Linked DNA regions of Homo sapiens: all the other regions are linked to region 1. The links are contacts of gene promoters, found by promoter capture Hi-C in blood cells and fetal thymus (Javierre and others, 2016). All regions are on one chromosome and are shown on one strand. The core of a region is centred on a gene start or on the middle of the fragment in contact, and the rest is flanking DNA. Distances in the headings are between cores, read along the strand shown.

What was found. The method cuts DNA at HindIII sites, captures the fragments that hold promoters and counts their contacts. A CHiCAGO score of 5 or more calls a contact.
Region 2: a fragment that was not itself captured here is called in contact with the fragment with the promoter of AMN1 in region 1 in 4 of 17 cell types (total B cells, activated CD4 T cells, naive B cells and 1 more); the score reaches 6.7 in total B cells.
Region 3: a contact is called between a fragment that was not itself captured here and the fragment with the promoter of AMN1 in region 1, in 1 of 17 cell types (activated CD4 T cells). The highest score is 5.1, in activated CD4 T cells.
Region 4: a contact is called between a fragment that was not itself captured here and the fragment with the promoter of AMN1 in region 1, in 7 of 17 cell types (activated CD4 T cells, total CD4 T cells, naive CD4 T cells and 4 more). The highest score is 10.4, in activated CD4 T cells.
Region 5: a contact is called between a fragment that was not itself captured here and the fragment with the promoter of AMN1 in region 1, in 3 of 17 cell types (activated CD4 T cells, total CD4 T cells and naive CD8 T cells). The highest score is 9.5, in activated CD4 T cells.
Region 6: a fragment that was not itself captured here is called in contact with the fragment with the promoter of AMN1 in region 1 in 3 of 17 cell types (activated CD4 T cells, total CD8 T cells and non-activated CD4 T cells); the score reaches 7.0 in activated CD4 T cells.
Region 7: a fragment that was not itself captured here is called in contact with the fragment with the promoter of AMN1 in region 1 in 4 of 17 cell types (naive CD8 T cells, activated CD4 T cells, non-activated CD4 T cells and 1 more); the score reaches 5.7 in naive CD8 T cells.

Annotation. Positions count from the first base shown.
Region 1 is chr12:31,727,603-31,730,558 of GRCh38, forward strand. AMN1 (antagonist of mitotic exit network 1 homolog) reads right to left here and starts at 1,419. Exons shown (of 7, transcript NM_001113402.2): 1 at 1,369-1,419. The coding sequence starts at 1,406. It overlaps AMN1-AS1 (AMN1 antisense RNA 1), which reads left to right and starts at 1,663. Exons shown (of 1, transcript NR_198987.1): 1 at 1,663-2,956. LOC105369722 (a long non-coding RNA gene) reads left to right here. Exons shown (of 3, transcript XR_931497.3): 3 at 1,055-1,288. RefSeq lists a silencer at 1,208-1,287 and enhancers at 1,338-1,687, 1,700-2,332, 1,728-1,927. The HindIII fragment of the contact is 3,446 bases long and covers 1,011-2,956 here.
Region 2 is chr12:32,141,432-32,144,387 of GRCh38, forward strand. The region is part of intron 1 of BICD1 (BICD cargo adaptor 1); the gene reads left to right. Among named protein-coding and RNA genes, the nearest start is that of BICD1-AS1, 35 kb to the left of the region's middle. The HindIII fragment of the contact is 2,033 bases long and covers 424-2,456 here.
Region 3 is chr12:31,314,867-31,317,822 of GRCh38, forward strand. The region is part of intron 1 of SINHCAF (SIN3-HDAC complex associated factor); the gene reads right to left. Among named protein-coding and RNA genes, the nearest start is that of FLJ13224, 8.0 kb to the right of the region's middle. The HindIII fragment of the contact is 2,530 bases long and covers 190-2,719 here.
Region 4 is chr12:32,103,242-32,106,197 of GRCh38, forward strand. It overlaps BICD1-AS1 (BICD1 antisense RNA 1), which reads right to left. Exons shown (of 3, transcript NR_185992.1): 2 at 1,435-1,532; 3 at 876-1,049. Among named protein-coding and RNA genes, the nearest start is that of BICD1, 2.1 kb to the right of the region's middle. The HindIII fragment of the contact is 3,383 bases long and covers 1-2,956 here.
Region 5 is chr12:32,070,149-32,073,104 of GRCh38, forward strand. No RefSeq gene overlaps it. Among named protein-coding and RNA genes, the nearest start is that of BICD1, 35 kb to the right of the region's middle. The HindIII fragment of the contact is 839 bases long and covers 1,116-1,954 here.
Region 6 is chr12:32,053,070-32,056,025 of GRCh38, forward strand. No RefSeq gene overlaps it. Among named protein-coding and RNA genes, the nearest start is that of BICD1, 52 kb to the right of the region's middle. The HindIII fragment of the contact is 7,795 bases long and covers 1-2,956 here.
Region 7 is chr12:32,035,635-32,038,590 of GRCh38, forward strand. No RefSeq gene overlaps it. Among named protein-coding and RNA genes, the nearest start is that of BICD1, 70 kb to the right of the region's middle. The HindIII fragment of the contact is 6,204 bases long and covers 1-2,956 here.

The DNA of each region.
Region 1 (2,956 bases), core at 169-2,668:
ACCGTCAGATACTACCAATGTTCAAAAATAACCCCCTTGACAAAGCTTTCTCCTATTCTTTTCCTTATTAGAAATTTCAAAAGTTTGTTACTCTCCCGCTTGTGATATTATTCTACATATATTATAGTTATTTATTTTATTTTTTTGAGACAGTCTCGCTCTGTCGCCTAGCAGCCTAGGCGTGCAGTGGCGCGATCTCAGCTCACTGCAACCTCTGCCTCCTGGGTTGAGGCGATTCTCCTGCCTCAGCCTCCAGAGTAGCTGGGACTACCGGCGCCACTACTACTCCTGGCTAATTTTTGTATTTTTAGTACATGCCGCGGTTTTGCCGTGCTGGCTAGGCTGGTCTCCAACTCTCCTGATCTCAAGTGCCTCGGCCTCCCAAAGTGCTGGGATTACAGGCGTGAACCACCGTGCCCAGATAATTTTTGTATCTTTAGTAGAGGCGGGGTTTCGCCACGTTGCCCAGGCTGGTCTCGAACTCCTGAGCTCAAGCAGTTCTCCCACCTCGGCCTCCCAAGTTTAATGTAAAATATCAGATGCCATTGTTTCAGAAAGCCTTCAGTAGATTAAGGAGATTGTTCTCCTTATCCTTAAGATGTCTATTTTTTACATGGCAATATTAACGGACTGAAAGCTCCTGGAGAGACGCAATTGCCCTTGTAACTTCCATTTCCGTACAATTTCTGGTAGGAAATAATAATAACAATAACACTTAGTGGTGTTTATTATTTGCTGGGCATCCTTATAAGGGTTTTACATGTTTTAAATTTATCCCTCAGGACAACTCCATGTGATGGGTGCTATTATCACAAAAATTTTATAGATAAAGAACCTAGGCACAGGGAGAGGTTACGTTACCGGTCCATGGTCACGTGGCTGGTGAATGGCAGAGCCGGGGGCTGAACCCAGCAATCTCAGCCAGGGATCCGTGGTCTTAACCACTTTGTTACCTTTATCCCAGGGTCTGTCAATGTTTATTCCAGTTACAGGGGTGGAATTCTGCTAGAAGCTTTTGAGAACCTCATCTAGCGTTGTGTTTTTTTCTACCAAGGCTTTTAGCTGCTAAGAGAGAGGCCACTGCCAGTAACAGCCGGGGCGCCGAGCTGTCAAGGCTGACGGAGGAATGGACGCTCATCGCGCAGCGGAGTGTTGGAGGGGCAAGCCCGCCAAGAGACCCACTTTGCACAACTGTCCTCAGCCAGGAAACGACAGATCAGGAACCCAGGGACAGAAACACACGCGGGGCCTCTTCAGAGGTCGGCGGGGGGGGTGGGAAAGGGGCGGGGAGGAAGAGCAGCGCAGGGCCTGGCCGTTTGGAGGAGGTGCTGGGGCGGCGCGAAGGGAGGCGGGACAGGGTAGACTCACAGATCCAGGAGCTGACTGACCCGCCGTGGGCGAGGCATCGCTGCAGCGTCTGAAGCCTCTTCCGCGGTCCCAGGGCCTCCAGAACCCAGCCAGGGACCGTCCGCCAACTCCCGCCCACCGCGCGACGCGTAGGTTTTTGTGACGTCACACGGATTTTTCCGGTGACCGGGGCGTGGCCACGCTTCGGACTCCACAAGGAAAGAAGAGAGCCCCCTTTGGGGCGGAGCCACTGAGGGCTGCGCGGAAGAGGCTGGGTGTGATAAACTATAAAGAGGCCCTAAACTCGGATGCAACGTGACGGGAGTTGTAGTTCTTTCACCTGGCGGGCGTCTGCTCCGGTTCAGCTGCAGGAGGTTTCTTGGGAGTTCAGCCCAGCGCGCAGCCCCGCCGCGACGCCGCGAGCCGAGAACTCTCCTGGGGCGAAGGGAGCGCTGAGAAGTCGCTACTCTTACTAAAAGGATGCGTTGGATGCTGGGCCATACCCTTGGCGATGCACACTGGAGACCCGCTCGGATACGGACTCCATTAACATCAAACGGAGCGTGTTAGAGGATCCGAGTTTACTGAGCACTTTCTAGGAAGCGTGCACTGAGCTACGTGCTTTCTAGGCCTTAGTTCAATACTTAACCATATTCATTATAATCCGGTGAAATCGTAATTATTTAGCCTTATTTTACAGATGAGGACACTGCGTACCAACAAGTAACCTCACTAAGAATTTCGTCATGGAGGAGAAGGGAACCTGTATTCAAATTAGGAAGGATCCTGAAGAAAGGGCACCTTTAGGTGGAATTTTATCTTTGGTTCTGCTGCAGAGTACTTGCTGCTTTTTAGTGCTCCCTCCACCCCCCTCATTCTTCCTTGTAGATTAGTCTGTTGTTTGTATGCTGAGTTCCTTTTTTAAGCTCCTTGAAAGTTGGAACCCACTGCTGTTGCCTGTTCAGGATGCTACACATTGAATCAACATGGATTTATTAAGCGCTGAACGAGGGCTAGGGATCGTGCTGGGTGCTGAGGATTGAGTGGCGAACACTTGGGTCAGACAAGTAAAAGGGCAATTAGAATAACTGTTAAATGCTTAGATGGGGTTAGTTCTATGGAAGCACCCATGGGGGTGGGATACAGATCAGAGAGAAAAGGGTGGTCTGCAAATAGTTTGGGATGGCTACACTGGAGAGTGATCAAGAGTGAGTGTAGGGCAGGGGTTGGCCGACTTTTTCCATAAAGTGCTCTGAAAGTTGCAGATTCCAGGAGAAGTAACTATTGTCAGACCCAGACAAATTGGAGCCTAGAGACCAGAAAGGAAGGAAACTCATGCTTGTATGTCTGAGATAAGAACTGTCTCAAGGCCAGACGCGGTGGCTCACACCTGTAATCCTAGTACTTTGGGAGGCCGAGGCGGGCGGATCACGAGGTCAGGAGTTTGAGACCAGCCTGGCCAACGTGGTGAAATTCCCGTCTCTACTAAAAATACAAAAAAAAAAAAAAAAAACTGGGTGTGGTGGCGGGCGCCTGTAATCCCAGCTACTGAGGAGGCTGAGGCAGGAGAATCGCTTGAACTCGGAGGAGGTTATAGTGAGCCGAGATC
Region 2 (2,956 bases), core at 190-2,689, 410 kb after region 1:
CATGAGAAATCTGATTTAGAGGCCCTTCCTTTGGACACACTTTTTGTTTTGTTTTGTTTTTGAGCGGAGTCTTGCTCTGTCGCCCAGGCTGGAGTGCAGTGGTGCAATCTCGGCTCACTGCACCCTCCACCTCCTGGGTTCAAGCGATTCTCCTGCCTCAGCCTCCCGAGTAGCTCGGAGTACAGGCGCCCGCCACTACGCCCAGCTAATTTTTCTATTTTTAGTAGAGGTGGGGTTTCACCATGTTGGCCAGGCTGGTCTCAAACCCCTAACCTTAAATGATCCATCCGCCTCAGCCTCCCAAAGTGCTGGGATTACAGGCGTGAGCCACCGCGCCTGGCCTGGACACCCATTTTGAATAGCACTTACCACAGATTCCCGAAGCCAGTGGTTTTCTAGCCTTTTTATTCGCCGTTCGTTGTAAGCTTCTTGAGTCTTGGTGATTCTTGTTTCATTTGTTTTTGTTTCTCCCCAGAGCCTAGCACATAGTAGGTGACGAACAAATGTTCATCGAATGTATGGGCTCAACCATAGTCTATTTTTTTCAAAAAGGTATAAATCTTATCAATGTTTTACATTTTGCTGAACAAAACAGGAGAGAGCGGATTCTTTTCAAATAGGAAAAATTAGGGAGGGAAAAGAGGGATTGACTGAAACTCTATTGAAGTATGTCAACATAAAAGTTTATTGACAGCCTGGCGTGATGGCTCAGGCCTGTAATCCCAGCACTTTAGGAGGCCAAGGTGGGCGGGTCACTAGAGGTCAGGAGTTCGAGACCAGCCTGGCCAACATGGTGAAACCCCGTCTCTATTAAAAATACAAAAATTAGCCAGGTGTGGTGGCAGGCGCCTGTACTCTGAGCTACTGGGGAGGCTGAGACAGGAGAATCGCTTGAACCTGGGAGGCAGAGGTTGCAGTGAGCTGAGATCGTGTCACCACACTTCCAGCCTGGGCAAAAGAGTGAGACTCTGTCTAAAAAAAAAAAAAAAAAAAAAAAAAACAAAAAACCCCACCTATCTATCCTATCTATCTATCTATCTATCTATCTATCTATCTATTGGTCTATCTATCTAGATAAAAATAGCAGTCAACTAATTTTTCAAATTAAAAATGCTTTATTGTTATTTATAGCATGATTGTTTTTCTATAAAAAAGGCATATTACAACAGCCTTCGCTTCACATCTGACTCTTGCAGCATTCTTATAAAGAGATCTCACACCATATTTGAGGGCTTCATTAGTTTTCTAAGCCTTAAAAAAATTTCATCATTAAGATTATTCTCTCATGAAGCACCCAAAATATAGACAGCTTTTCTTATTTTCTTTTCTTCAATTGTTGACAGTCTAATGCTGCCAGATCTTTATCTGTCAGGGACTTTTGATGTTGTTGGAGCCATCTCTTGTGGACTTTATGAAATCTTGCATGCAGCACAATTTGAAACTTCATTGTGCATTCAATTTGCATTGCCTTTGCTGTGTTCACAGTGGCACTCCATGAGGCTTAACTATGGAGATCCTGGTGCTACAAGCCGTTAAATAGTTCTCTCTTCTCAACCTATTCCCCTATCCTGCTTTTCTTTTCTTCATAGCACTTATTACCTCCTGATTATATTTTTTGTTTGCCTTTTGTCTATCACCTGTCATTCTTTTACCAGACCATCTAGTCTCATATGTCTATATAACCTTTCTGAAAAACATCCTGTGGGAAATATACCATATATACAGAAAAAGTGCACAAACATGAATATACAGTTTAACAAATAATATAAACCTGCTATTCATGTAGCCACCACCCAGATGAAGGAAATAGAATATCATAAGCACCGCACAATCTCCATTTGTGCCCTTCTCCATCGTAGCTTTCTCTGTCCCAGACAACCATTGTCCACAACTTGTTGTAATAATTTACTTAATTTTCTTTTATAGTTTTATCACACATAATTTAGTTTTTGTCTGCTTTTTGAACTTTACATGAATGGAATAATATTGCATATATTATTTAATGCTTTTTCTTTCATTTAACATTTTTTTTTGTGTGTGTGTGAGATTCTCCAGGTTGTTGTACACAGTGCTAGTTATTTCATTTTGTTATGGTATAGTATCCCATTGTATGATTGTACCACAGTTTATCCATTTTTTAGTTGATGGGTTTTGACTTGCTTTCATTGTTTGGGCTATTATGAATAGTGCTGCTCTGCACCTGTTGTACATATAGCCTGGTGAACATGTTTGCGAATTTCTATGAGCGTGATCACGGTGGTGTAGAATTGCCAATCTTCAACCTGCCTGTATTTTCCAAAGCGATCATACCAATTTATTTACCTTCCAGCAGTGTATGAGAATTCTCTATTCTCACCATCATTGGATATTGTCAGATTTTAACATTTGGCTCAACTGATGGGTGTATAATGGTATCCTATGGTACTTATAATTTGCATTATCCCTAGTTACTAATAAGCTTGAGCAATTTTTCATATTTTTATTTCGATTTCCTAATTTATGAAATGCCTGTTTAAGTCTTCAGCCATTTCAAATGTTACCTGTCTTTTCAAAATGATCTATAGGAGTTCTTTGTATAATATATATTCTGGCCCCTAGTCCTTTATTCTTTGTATGTGTTGCAAATATCTTCATCTCTGCAGTTTACTCTTTTTGTGGTGTCCTTTGATAAAATTCTCAATTTGGTGAATGTAATTGAATTTATTAATTTTTCTCTTTGTTATGTATTTTTGTGTCTTTAAGAAATTTTTCCCTATGTAGGGAAGAAGGACAAAAATTGTCTTTCATAATTAGTTCTTTAACCCTTCATAACTTTGAGTATATAAATTATTGTGACCATCTTTGAATCTACAGTAGTTGAATTGCATATATAGAGGCTTGAGTTCTTAAATTATTCTTTCCAGGGTGAATATTAGCATATCACAATAGGACAGTAGGGACAGTGGCTTTTTCGCTA
Region 3 (2,956 bases), core at 205-2,704, 410 kb before region 1:
CACAATGAGGCACCCCAAGTACTGTATATTAACCCAGCTGGGGTTTCTAAAGGTGGAATCAGATGTTCTGCAGTTGCAGGGGATTTAGTCGATTTAGAGGATTTGTTCTCCATAATTTTTAATACCTTCTCATTAGATTGACTAAGTCAGGAGGTGTTCTGAATCTGAATGTGCTGCTTGCAAACACAAAGCTTGAGGATGCGCACCCAGGAAGCACAAGTTCCAGTAGCTTATTACCTGTGCTCTGAAGTAGACTGCATGAGGCACAGTCTTTATATATTTTTTAAACAGGAAAATATGTGCGGTATGGTGAAGCAATAGTTGAGAATTTGGTTCATATTCAGTGATGTTATGCCTAAAGTCAAGTAAATATGTGGTTGAGTGGGTAGAAGAGAAAAGTTAATAATTGTGTAGGCACCTTAGGGTCTGGTGGAAGGATGATTGATTCCATCCTGCCTTTGTTCTGTATCTGATAAACAAGTTTACAACCAGTATCTGTCAGTAAAATATTTAACAAACTCCAGTTACAAACCCAAGGGGTCAGCTTTAGTTTGTAGGCAGTGGTTTAATTATGCATATGTCCAAACTGCAGCCATCTTGGACCAGTTTTATCTTTTCTTCTGACACCATCTATCATCATCTATCTGTCTACAGTATGCTGTCTGAAGTTTCTTCAAATAGGACAAACATTTTGAGAAGTTCCTCAGGATTTGAAAGGTTACAGTTAAAACATGCCTATTTATGGGAGTTTGTAACGCTTATCTCTGACATAGCTGTTTTTGCAATATACACACATTCCTGGGCCAGAAAGAAATTTAGAGGAGGACTGTGTTGATCAGTTTTTTCTTTTATTTGCTTTCACAGGTGTAATAAATGTGTTGCTTAAATTTTAAGTTGTCATTTGTATAGCACTTTACATTTTATAAAGCACTTTCACTGGCATTCTTTCTTTGACTACTATTAGCCAAAAACCCAAAAATTGTTTTAATACTGTAACAGTTAAAAACAATCAACCATGGCCGGGCGTGGTGGCTCAAGCCTATAATCCCAGCACTTTGGGATGCCAAGGTGGGTGGATCACCTGAGGTCAGGAGTTTGAGACCAGCCTGACCAACATGACGCAACCCTGTCTCTACTAAATATAAAAAAATTTGCCAGGCGTAGTAGTGGCAGACGCCTGTAAATCTCAGCTACTCAGGAGGCTGAGGCAGCAGAATTGCTTGAACCCGGGAGGCAGAGTATGCAGTGAGCCGAGATTGTGCCACTGCACTCCAGCCTTGGGGACAAGAGCAAAAATTCATCTCAAAAATAAAAAATAAAAAAAAAACCATGCCATAATTATAGCTCTGACCAAATAAACTGAATATCCCAAAGTTAAAAAAGATTAAAGGTAATAGCTAAGTCAGCAAAAGCAATTTAAAAAGATAACTAATTATATGGACAATATATATAAACAAAAAAATAAAGTTTTAAAACACAACAATCAATTCTAAACATCTGTTTTGGCTGATTTGTAGGGTTTTCTTCTACTTTAAAGCTGTGGGTTTCATATAAATTTAATGATCTTAATGAATCTAACTTAATGAATCTAACCTTGGTGCTGATGAGTCAAGAAAGGGATGAGATAACCACAATATATCAAAGACACAAAAGGGACAATTCTAATCCCATCTAATGAAATTGGGAAGCCAAAGATCAAGAATAACGTCTAATTTTACATCTAATTAAACACATAAGTTTACTGAATATAATAATATACATAGGAAAGAAAAAGAGTTTCACAGCGATAGTTTATATTAAAGACGCTATTTAAGAAAAGTTTTCTGATAAATAAGATTAAAGATTATCTCTTATAAATCTCAGCAATACTAAATACTTGTTCATTTTAAGCTCCAACCAGGAAACAGAATGAAAAATACTGAAATGCAAATTTTAGAGCTTTAGTACCCTTTTTAATATGGAATAGGAGACAGAGAAAAGGTGATGAATTTAATTCAACTATTTTCTTGTCTTTTTAAATCTTTATAAGGGTGTTAACTCACATTTAAGGATATGGAGAGGGTTCTTATTACGATGAATTTAACATATGTTAAGTTCACCTTAGTTGGCATGCATGCTTTGAAGGACATCATTATTTACTCTAACTTCCCCAATTCCACTTTCTAGATTCCTTCTTCTGGCTTTTTTATATATTCAGAAGTAAAGCGTTTTTTAATATTCAAAAGTACCTTTCAAAACTCAGTAATACCACTGGGTGGACTAGATGGAAGAAAATTGAGAGCAATAGTCAAACGTGGTAAATAACAGTTAACTTCACAACTGTCCAAGTCATCTTGGGAACTGAAATTCTGATATGCACAAATTAGGGGAACAACCTCCCAAATGAAACTATCCTTAAGTTTCCAATAAACCAAAACCCTAGCTTCTAATTATCATTTTTTTCTTTCTAAAAATCAACTGGCCTAAGTCTTTAAAAACAAAAAAAAAACACAAGATAGTTGAAGTGACTTAAATGTCAACGAATTTTCAGACTGGTTAAATTATGGTTGAAACACCACAGCACGCTGTTTCAACCTTTAAAGCAAGTTGAACAGTAGTAATACAGTATAATCTCACAGGATGTTTTTAAAATGAGACTGTAACTACACAAACTTCTTTTTAAATTGGTTCTTAAAAATAGTAAATAGTGGTTGCCTCTGAGGAGTACAAGCATAAAAGAAGCTTACTTTCACTTTACTACCTCCTGCTTTTTTTTTTTTAACCAAGAGCATCACTCTCCAATAACCTTGGTTATCAAGACACACCTTAAGAGTAATCTAAAAAAGCACAGAGAGCTTAAATAAACTTCCTCAAAGACATACAGATGGAGAGATACAAATTAGAAAATACACTCCATGGGAGAGACTACGAAATAGACTGGTAAGATCTAAATACACACAGAGCAGAATGGGAAGGA
Region 4 (2,956 bases), core at 167-2,666, 380 kb after region 1:
AAAGTTGGATATGACCCAAGTAGACTAGCTTGTGCTTTTTTTTTTTGCTTTTTTTCTTTTCTTTTTTTTGAGACGGAGTCTCACTCTGTCACTTGGGCTAGAGTGCAGTGGCGGATCTCTGCTCACTCCAACCTCCAACTCCCGAATTCAAGTGATTCTCCTGCCTCAGCCTCCCGAGTAGCTGGGATTACAGGCGCCCACCACCACACCCAGCTAATTTTTGTATTTTTAGTAGAGATGGGGTTTCACCATGTTGGTCGGGCTGGTCTCGAACTCCTGACCTCAGATGATCCGCCCACCTCGGCCTCCCAAAGTACTGGGACTACAGGTGTAAGCCACCGAGCCTGGCCTTTTTTTCTTTTCTTTTGGTGAGTCTTGCTTTGTCACCAGGCTAGAGCACAGTGGCACAATCAGTACATTGCAGCCTTAATCTCTTGGGTTCAAGCCATCATACTGCCTCAGCCTCCTAAGTATTGGGGACCACAGGCATGTATTACCATGCCCAGCTAGTATTTTTTAATTTTTTGTAGCCATGAGGTCTCGCTATGTTGCCCAGGCTGGTCTTGAACTGCTGGCCTCAAGTGACCCTTCTGCCTCAGCCTCCCAAAGTGCTAGGATTACCAGTATGAGCCACCACACCCAGCCTAGGAATGCTTTAAGAAATTATTTTCTATATACCTGTCATTGATATATATGCAATACATATGGCATATACGAAAAAAGAGGGAACTGTAACTATGCAGTACTGGAACAGCATGGTGTATAGGAAAATAAATTTGGCTGGGCATGGTGGCTCACATCTGTAATCCCAGAACTTTGGGAGGCCAGGGTGGGAGGATCACTTGATCCCAGGAGTTTGAGACCAGCCTGGGCAACATAGACAGACCCTGTCTCTACAAAAATTTAAAAAATTAGCTGAGTGTGGTGGTATTCATCTGTAGTTCCAGCTACTCAGGAGGCTGAGGTGGGAGGATCGCTTGAGTCCAGGAGGTTGAGGCTGCAGGGAGTCATGATCATGCCACTCCACTCCAGCCTAAGTGATGGAGACCCTGTCTCAGAAAAAAAGAGAAAAAAAACAAGAAAATAAGTTTATCTTCTTTACGTTAAATACCAACATTTAAGGATCAAAGTTCAACTAAGCAACATCTTAAAGTGTCAGAGTGTGCAAGACATGCCTGAAATCAGACAAAAGTGACAAGTGACAAAAGTGTATCAATCAGAAAAACGGGGCAGGATAGAGCATAGGGGCTGGACCACAATGGAAATTTAGCAAAAAGGAAAGTCACAGAGGCAAACTCTGTTCTTAGTTTGATCCAAAGGAGAGGGAGGCACAGGCAATCTAGTGCGAGTCTTATGATCCCTTTGGAAGGCCTATGCTTACAGTTTGTAGAGTGAGGAACAGCCAGAGGCTTCCTGGGAAGGCAGGTTAGCTACCTGCAATTGCAGGTTCCATCTCTTTTCAGCAGTTCATCATCATTCATCAACGTGTCAGAGGTCAGATGCCACGGGAGCACACAGGAGGGGCTTCCCACCTGGAGTGCGAGATAAGGAAAGATGGGTCGGATGTTGTAGTCATTATCATCCGCTTCTCTACAAGGCTGGAATTTATGGTGGCTGCACATTTGGAATGTTTTCTCCTTTTATTTATTTATTTTTAGATCAGACAATCACAAGAGAATATTCTTTTGTTTTATTTTTAGATCAGACAATCACATGAGAATATTCTGTTGTGATCGCTGGCGTTTAGAAGGAAACTTGTCTGGTTTGTGAAGCAATGGAAAACACATCCAGACAGCCTGCTAGTGGAAACTTTGGAAGGGCACTGTCATATGCTTTTTCTCCCACGCCATCAACAAGTGTCCTTTTTTTTTTTTTTTTTTGAGATGGAGTCTCTGTTGCCTAGGCTGGAGTATAGTGGTGCCATCTGTACCCTCCACCTCCTGGATTCAAGCAATTCTCCTGCCTCAGCCTCCCAAGTAGCTGGGATCACAGGCGTGCACCACCATACCTGGCTAATTTTTGTATTTTTAGTAGAGATGGGATTTCACCATGTGGGCCAGGCTAGTCTTGAACTCCGGACCTCAAATGATCCATCCACTTCTGCCTCCCAAAGTGCTGGGATTATAGGCGTGAGCCACTGTGCCCGGTCAACAATCATCTTTTTTTTTTTTTTTTTTTTTTTTACCAGGTACACAATGATGGGAGAGTTGAGTCCTGCTTTCTAACTTAGAAAACGCATGTGTGTTCATCACCTGGTCACTGAGAAACAGCTCTGGAATAGGTGCCATGCAGAAGAAGAGAGGGAACTGGAAAGACCCACTGATCTGTGGGTCTCACAGCCTCCCGTTACACAGAAATTGCTTCTTTTCTCTCATGTTGCGTTCTTCCTCTTGATTCTCGACCCTTCTCCACTCTTTCATTTACTCCACTCTTACTTTGCTTTCACCTCCTTTTGTAACCGTTCATCATCACTCTTCATATGGATTAATGTGATTATCTTAAAAGCATGTAATATGTAGTTGCTGGGTTTGTATGAGTAATGAGTGAACCTGAAGCCAACATAATGATCCCGTTTAGTGCTCCCGAGTTAAGATTCCAGAGTTGCCTGACTTTGGACAAATCACATCTCCCTTTGCCTTTCACCCCCTGTAAACTGAGGATAATGGCTCTTACCTCAAAGCATTGTTAGGATTGGAGAGAACGCATGTTACATACTTAGAAGAATGCTTGGTATGGGTCTCAAGAACTCTTAGCTCTTATTGTTTAAAAAATGCTTATTACAGGGCATCGTTGGTATCTTATATAGGGAATTTCAAGCAGTTTTCCTTTATTGAAGACACAGAGTAAGGTGCTTTGATGGAAACTATTGGGGCAAGATATACAGTACCTAGCTAGAGGTTTCCTGGGTGCATGTATTGTGGAGATATTTTTTTTCTGAGTGGATAGCGCTCTTGTG
Region 5 (2,956 bases), core at 285-2,784, 340 kb after region 1:
ATGATTTTATTCTTTTTTATGGCTGAATAGTGTAATAAACTCTTTTAACTGGATCCTGAGCCTTTTGGTTATTTTAGGTTGACAATCTATGTGACAGTAAATTTGGTCAGTCCCTTTATTCAACATCCTCAGTAAGGTTAGATTATGTTGAGTTTCTACAGATTCTATTAGAGCCCACACTTTTTTTTTTAATGCCATTGACTTGATTACAAAGACAGGTTAGTTGTCCTGCATGATGTCCTAAATTCTGACTTTGACTAAATATTTCCTCCTAGTGTTACCTAACTTTTTCCTCTATCTTCTATTTTTCTTGTAGACTACAGGCTTGAATAGATTCAGGTTTAAGGTTTTGCTTTGTATTGCTTAGTTTATGACTACTTCATAGGTGGTGCTGTATGCTTCCTATTGCCTCATATTCAAAAGCATGCAATAGCTGGTTGTTTCACTTACAGTGGCTGCTAAGATGGATCAGCGAGTTCAAGTGGTGGCATCAACCTTTTTACCTAATGATTTTGTCATCTATTGATAACCAGTATTTAAGTCATTTTATTAGGAGCTACAAAATGTTGACTTTCTAATACTACATTTATTATCTGTAATTATTCTATATAGAACTCTTATCTAGTAGGGTTATTTGATTTCCAGGAAATACTGTTCATACTGGAAAGGTGATATAAAATCTCGGTTCTTTCCCCTTAATTATCAGTTTTTGGAGTAATGAGTTGGTGCACAGCAACCTTTGCTCGATTCATTCACTATGGCGTGTTTGTTCTTTCCTCTTTAAAAAAATTATGACTTTTTATTATTTATATATTTGTTTATCTACTTGAGACAGGGTCTCACTCTGTCACCCAGGCTGGAGTGCAGTGGTGCGAACACAACTCACTGTAGCCTCAATCTCCTGGGCTTAAGCAATCTTCTCACCTCAGCCCCCAGAGTAATATTTTTATTTATTTTAATCAATTGAAATAATAATTCTTCTTGATGTTCAAATCATCTTATCTTTGACCAAAAGGACCCTCTTCAAGCTGGCTTATGGAATTTTTTGTTATTTGATGTGTCCCATCATTAGCCTTTGATAATGTTTTTACTTTCTGGGGCAACAAGCTGTTCCAAGCTTATTTTTCTTCCTTTTCTTTTTTTTTTTCCAATTTTATTTTGTACTTTTTCCGCCCTGGACCTGGTTTAGGTGTGGTGCTTTTAATGAAAAATGGTATGAATTTCAGCTATTCTAATTGTGGATAGTGATATTTCATTGTGGTTTTAATTTGCGTTTCTCTGATGACTAATGATTTTGAGCATCTTTCCATGTGCTGATTGATCATTCATATATCTTCTTTGGTAAAAGCATCTATTCACTGGGAGGCGGAGGTTGCCATGAGCCGAGATACACCACTGCACTCCAGCCTAGGGGACACAGCAAGACTCTGTCTCAAAAAAAAAATAAAAAGTGTCTGTTCAAATCTTTCACTCATTTTAAGAAAATGGGTTGTCATTTTTTTCCTATGGAACAGAATTTATTGGATAGTAGCATTTTAGGAAAAATATAAGCTCTACTATATATATATATAAATCTATATAGATAGATAGATAGATAGATACAATCAACTGTAAAGTCCATCTCAACTTCAGAAAATGTAAAGACATGTCCATCTTAGAAATGAAGAAATGGCTTCCTTGCAAGTTTGCAAGAACATTAGTGACATAATGTATAAAGTACTTAACATAAGTGTTCAAAGGGTAACTGTTGTTACTATTATCAACTGTATTAATTAAACTGTTTTGAGATTTAACACACATGTTACAGACTTTAAGAAAGCAGCTGAGTGCAGGTTTTTTGTTTTAGTTTTGCGTTTATGCCAATGTGAAAATATGAACAGCTCAGTTCTACATTCTGTTCCCTGAAAATACCACGAGAGCTATTAGACAGTCTTGAAAGGCAGTATCTAACATAAGCTTTGTGTGTTCATGGATATTTGTTCAATAATAACATTTAAATAATGAGGGAGGCCACTTCTAAAGACTTATCATTTACCTGATCTACACAATATCTAGCATAGGACCAGTTCTCAATTGACGGCAAACAGTCCCAGCAGGTCACTTCATTTTGAACAGACATTGCAATTGCACTTGAGAAATCATGCCAAGTTTTGCAGGGATTGTCCTTGGACTTGTCACCACGAAGACATAACTCATGCTATTTACATATTATAGCATTTTCTTTCTTTTTTTTTTTGAGACGGAGTCTCACTCTGTTGCCCAGGCTGGAGTGCAGTGGTGCGATCTCTGCTCACTGCATGTTCTGCCTCCCGGGTTCACGCCATTCTCCTACCTCAGCCTCCTGAGTAGCTAGGACTACAGGCGCCCGCCACCACACCCAGCTAATTTTTTGTATTTTTAGTAGAGACGGAGTTTCACCATGTTAGTCAGGATGGTCTCAATCTCCTGACCTCGTGATCTACCCGCCTCAGCCTCCCAAAGTGCTGGGATTACAGGCATGAGCCACCGTGCCGGGCTATTATAGCATTTTCTAGACTAGTTCAATCTGCAATGTCCTTGCACTGACCAGGGCTCCATTTCCTTTATCAGAGGGCTATGATGGAAATGATGTGGAGTTCACCTGGCTGAGACGGAATGACTCTGTGCATGGGCTGGAAACCCTGTGGCTTGCTTAGTACACCATACAATGGTATTTCACCTTGGACACCAGATTGCAGCAGGAGACAGGTAACTCATGTGACAATTTTTTTTTTTTAATTTTTACCATTGTTTTCGTAGATATTCCTAGGCCAGTTCTAAGAGTTTGTTTCTTGGGAGATTAGTGCTGGAGGCCAGAAGTCTGAGATCAAGGTTGGTTTTTTCTGAGGCCTCTCTCCTTGGCTTGGAAACAGCCGTTTTCTCGGTGTCTTCACATGGTCTTTTGCTCTGTACCTGTCCAAATTTCCTTTTCTTATAA
Region 6 (2,956 bases), core at 174-2,673, 330 kb after region 1:
ACATGCTGGAGTGCAGTGGCACCATCTCGGCTCCTTGCAACCTCCACCTCCCGGGTTCAAGAGATTCTCCTTCCTTAGCCTCCCGAGTAGTTGTGATTATACGCTGTGCCACCATGCCCAGCTAATTTTTGTATTTTTAGTAGAGACAGGTTTCGCCATCTTGCCCAGGCTGGTCCCGAACTCCTGACCTTGTGATCTGCCTGCCCCGGCCTCCCAAAGTGCTGGGGTTACAGGTGTGAGCCACCGCGCCTGGCCAATTTTTGTATTTTTAAAAGAGACAGGTTTTGCCATTTGGCTAGGCTGGTCTTGAACTCCTGACCTCAAGTGATCTGCCCACCTCTGCCTCTCAAAATGCTGAGATTACAGGTGTGAGCCACCATACTTGGCCCCAATAAACCTTTATCAAATTATTTGTGCCCCAACAGCCTTAATTTTGGTAAACATGTCCTATACAGGTGTACCATTTTTTATCTTTTATACCATATTTTTACCGTACCTACTTATGTTTAGATACACAATTACTTACCATTGTGCTACAATTGCCTACAGTATTTAGCATACTAACACACTGTACAGGTTTGTAACCTAGGAGCAATTTGCTATTCCATATATAGTAGGCTGTATCATCTAGGTTTGTGTAAGCACACTCTATAAGGTTTGCACGAGGACAAAATCACCTCACGCATTTCTCCCTGCTGTTAAGCAATGTGTGACCTGTATCTGTCCCACCAACAGAAGTTATTTGCATTTCTTCCTGACAAAAATCTTCAAGTTAACAAGTAATTTCACGAATTCTGGGACCCTTAATCAATAGTAAATAATGGGATAAACTTTACGTTACTATGATCCTCTGGCTGAATCCAGCCCACATATTTTGTAAATAAAGTTTTGTTGGAGCCCAGCCTATTTCTTCCTTTGCTTATTGTCCATGACTGCTTTTGTGCCACAATGGCAGTCCTGAGTACACACAGCAGAGATTCTAAAGTCCACAGATTTAGACTTGAGTTCTCAACACAGAAATCCTAAAGCTCACAGTAGAGACAGGGTTTCTACCTGACTCAGAGCCTGAGAAATTTACTATGACTTAGAGCCTGAGAAATTTACTATGTGAACCTTTACATGCTGGGGAAAGCCTGAGGGTCATGACCAACTCAGCACTCCACTGGAGGCTATATGATAAAAGAGCAAACTGTTTATCACGAATGCAGGATGTGGGGAAACTCACATCTGCACCTGCCACCAGAAGGTATGCTGAGGGCAATCACTCCCTGGCGCCGTGCTCCTTGAGGTTATCTACTGGAACATCTGGAGCCTACTGTTCAAAGAAAGCAGTTATGCAGGCCTGCACTAAGTGAAACAGCTGACTGACAACCACCCCCTCCTCATTATTTCCTTTACTCAATAAATACAAAGGGCTATAGAAGCTCAGAGCCCTTGTTCACTAGAAGCAAGGAGACCCCTGACCCCTTCTTCCAAATATACTTGTTTGTCTTTGTCTTTATTCCCGCATTCGTCCTCCTTTGTTCAGTCCACCAGGGTCCGTGGCACAGTGGAGCCTGAGGGTTGTGACCAACTTTTACAAATAAAGTTCGTTGGCCCTCACTCTAGACAACCCTATGATGATCTTTGCCACTGCATGAAAGTGAAATTGTCAGAAGCATGTGAACCAGAGCAACTCCATCTTGAATAGGGGCTGGGTAAAATGAGGCTGAGACCTACTGAGCTGCATTCCCAGATGGTTAAGGCATTCTAAGTCACAGGATGAGGTAGGAGGTTGGCACAAAATACAGGTCTTAAAGACCTTGCTGATAAAACAGACTGCAGTAAAGATGCCAGCTAAAACCCAACAAAACCAAGATGGCAACAAGAGTGTCCTCTGATTGTCCTCTCTGCTACACTCCGTCCAGTGCCATGACAGTTTACAAATGCCATGGCAACGTCAGGAAGTTACCCTATGTGGTCTAAAAAGGGGAAACATGAATAATCCACCCCTTGTTTAGCATATCATCAATAAATAACTATAAAAATGGGCAACCAGCAGCCCTCGGGGCTGCTCCGTTCATGAAGTAGCCATTCTTTTATTCCTTTACTTTCCTAATAAACTTGCTTTCACCGTACTCTACTGACTTGCCCTGAATTCTTTCTTATGCAAGATCCAAGAACCCTCTCTTGGGATCTGGATCAGGACTCCTTTCCTGTAACAAAAGGATGTGCTATTTAGCTTTTTGCCTTATTTCCAAGTTTTGCATACTTTTTCTGACCAACACTTGAGAACCTTTAATATATAGTTTTTCTGTTTCCATTGTCTTCAGTTCCAATTGTCTTTTGGTTCCAATTCTCTAAGTTTTAATTCAACCAGTGTTTACTGAACACATACTATGTACCAGAAGCTACTGCAATGAATGGAACCTAGCCCTCACCTTCACATTTTGTGAGGAAATCAAATGTGTGACTGTGAAGGGTTCTTCTTTTAGATAACTCTTTTTTTTTTTTTTTTTTTGAGACAGAGTCTCACTCTGTCGCCCAGGCTGGAGTGCAGTGGCACGATCTCAGCTCACTGCAAGCTCCATCTCCCGGGTTCACACCATTCTCCTGCCTCAGCCTCCTGAGTAGCTGGGATTACAGGCGCCTGCTACCATGCCCAGCTAATTTTTTGTATTTTTAATAGAGACGGGGTTTCACCGTGTTAGCCAGGATGGTCTGGATCTCCTGACCTCGTGATCTGCCCTCCTTGGCCTCCCAAAGTGCTGGGATTACAGGCGTGAGCCACCGTGCCTGGCCAAGAGGAGAACTGTAAGTCCAATCTAAGGAAGATATCCTAGATATGCGAAGATTGAAGGCAGGGGAGAAAGAGAAATAAGACATGTTAATAGTTGCTAGAGGGAAACATGTGAATTTGTTTTGGGGACTCTTTGGTTTTAAGAAAATCACTTTGGCCAGACACGGTGGCTCACAC
Region 7 (2,956 bases), core at 279-2,778, 310 kb after region 1:
GGTGGCCTGTGCCTGTAGTCCCAGCTACGTGGGGGGCTGAGGCAGAGAATTGCTTGAACCCGGGAGGCAGAGGTTGCAGCAGCTGAGATCGAGCCACTGCACTCTAGCCTGGGTGACAGAGCGAGACTCCATCTCAAAAAAAAAAAAAAGAAAGAAAAAGAAAAATTAAGTCTGAACTTTGAGTTTCTCAAGGAAGCTAATGATGCATGTATAAATTGCACAAAATATTTATCAACATTTACCATCCCCGGTGAAGGCTGTAGTAATATCATTGACTACATGAAAAAATAGAAGACACAAATTTGCTGAAGAAGAATCAGTGTCTACTTCAAATGATAATAATTCTTTTAAGCAGATCGTGCCTGAAAATGACAAGGTAACATATGCAGATGCAGAGGTGAATTTCCTTATCACTCTGTGAAGTACGCATCCCATTTAGGGCAAATGACAGCCTTTTTAAGTTAATTTTGCTCTTTTTTTTTTTTTTTTTTTTTTTTTTTTAGATGGAGTCTCGCGCTCTGTCGCCCAGGCTGGAATGCAGTGGTGCAATCTTGGCTCACTGCAACCTCCACCTCCCAGGTTGGAGCAATTCTTCTGCCTCAGCCTCCCGAGTTGCTGGGATTACAGGTGCCTGTCATCACGCCCGGCTAATTTTTGTATTTTTAGTAGAGACGAGATTTCACCATCTTGGCCAGGCTGGTCTTGAACTCCTGACCTCAAGTGATCCACCTGCCGTGGCCTCCCAAAGTGCTGGGATTACAGGCATGAGCCACCGTGCCTGGCCAAGAAAATTCTTAAGTTTCAAACCACTTGTGGTTTTGTTTTCTTTTTGGATGTTTTAGTTAGCTATGGATAAAATCTCCACAAGGTGTCCCTAAGCTACAGATATGAAAATGTCCTGCTCAGAACACCCTTGGGAGTCCCCATCCCCAAACTCCACTTAGGCAACTGATTAGTGAAATCCAATTAGATCCAGCATCTCTCCCAAGATACTTTGACTCCAGGTAAATTCAGGATGAATGGAGAGGAATGGCAGCTTCACTCACCACCACAAGGTGCTGCCTCCTGCTGTGTTCCAGACAGTCCCAAAGCCCCAGAAGCACAGCGCAGGGACTCCAGAGTGAGACTGAATGAAAACATATCCACACGTAAGTGCCACTCACACACTCTGTGTCCGGGGCGTGGAATAGGCCAGGAGAACCTTGGTCTGAAAATACGAAGAGCTCGTTTCTTCCTCTTAATCTATCACTAGTACCACAATACTGAGTTGAGATCATTATTGCTATATTACCTCAAGCCAATCATTAATGTCAATGGTATTAACTTTTTCTCATTTGTAAAAATGATCAAACTTGGTTTAAGATGTTCCGTATAGTCCCTTGAAATTACTTTTGTTTGTTTGTTCATATCTATCTATAAAAACAAGCTGATGTAGCATTTTTTGTTTTGTTTTGTTTTGTTTTTGAGACAAGGTCTCGCTCTGTCACCTAGGCTGGAGTGCAGTGACACGATCTCAGCTCACTACAGCTTCGACTTCCTGGGCTCAAGCAATCCTCCCATCTCAGCTTCCTGAATCTCTGGGGCTACAGGCTTATGCCATCATGCCCAGCTAATTTTCGTTGTTTTGGTTTTTGGTTTTTTGTTTTTTGAGACGGAGTCTCACTCTGTCGCCCAGGCTGGTGTGCAGTGGCGTGATCTCAGCTCATTGCAACCTCCACCTCCCGGGTTCACGCCATTCTCCTGGCTCAGCCTCCCAAGTAGCTGGGACTACAGATGCCCGCCACTACGTCCGGCTAATTTTTTTGTATTTTTAGTAGAGACGGGGTTTCACCTTGTTAGCCAGGATGGTCTCGATCTCCTGACCTCATGATCCGCCCACCTCGGCCTCCCAAAGTGCTGGGATTACAGGCGTGAGCCACTGCACCCGGCCTAATTTTTCATAGTTTTTTGTAGAGATAGGGTTTCGCCGTGTTGCCCAGGCTGGTCTCAAACCCCTGAGCTCAAGTGATTGGCTTGTCCTCCCAAAGTGCTGATTATAGGCGTGAGCCACTGCACCCGGCCATGTTTTTTCTTTATGCATACTTACCCTCTTTATTTCTTACTGGCTTACCTAAAATATGTGAAGAGGCTGCTTGCCAGGAGGTGAGAGAAACTGGAGGAGAGTGGTAATGCAATGAGTTTTGGATTTCTTTTTTTTTTTTTTTTTTTGAGGCCGAGTCTCAATCTGTCACCCAGGCTGGAATGCAGTGAGTGGTGCAATCTTGGGTCACTGCAACTTCTGCCTCCCAGGTTCAAGCGAATCTTCTGTCTCAGCCTCCCAAGTAGCTGGGATTACAGATGTGCACCACCACACCTGGCTAATTTTTGTATTTTTAGTAGACACGGGGTTTCGCCATATTAACTAGGCTGGTCTCGAACTCCTGACTTCAAGTGATCTGCTCGCCTTGGCATCTCAAAGTGCTGGGATTACAGGTGTTAGCCACTGCACCTGGCCGAGTTTTGTGTTTCAAATGCCAGACTTGGGACAGCTGAAGACTCCTCAGGTGATATGGACTACCAATAATACTGATTGGTAGGTAAATTGCGGGGATGGAACTAAGATCTCAAAGCCTGACCTGTAGCTATCTAAGACATTTAGTATCAACTGACTTCTTTCTTCCTTCCCTTCAGGTAACTATTAGGGATTTCCTAGGCCAGTTCTCAAAGAAACACAGCTTATCTTATGACCCAGGACACAGGCACACAGACACACATACGTGACTGAATTAATACTTAGCCTTACACCATTGCACTGTTTTATTTTCTTTCCTTTTCCTTTTCTTTTCTTTTTTTTTTTTTTTTTGAGACGGAGTCTTGCTCTGTGCCCAGCCCAGGCTGGAGTGCAGTGGCGCAATCTTGGCTCACTGCAAACTCTGCCTCCCGGGTTCACGCCATTCTCCTGCCTCAGCCTCCCGAG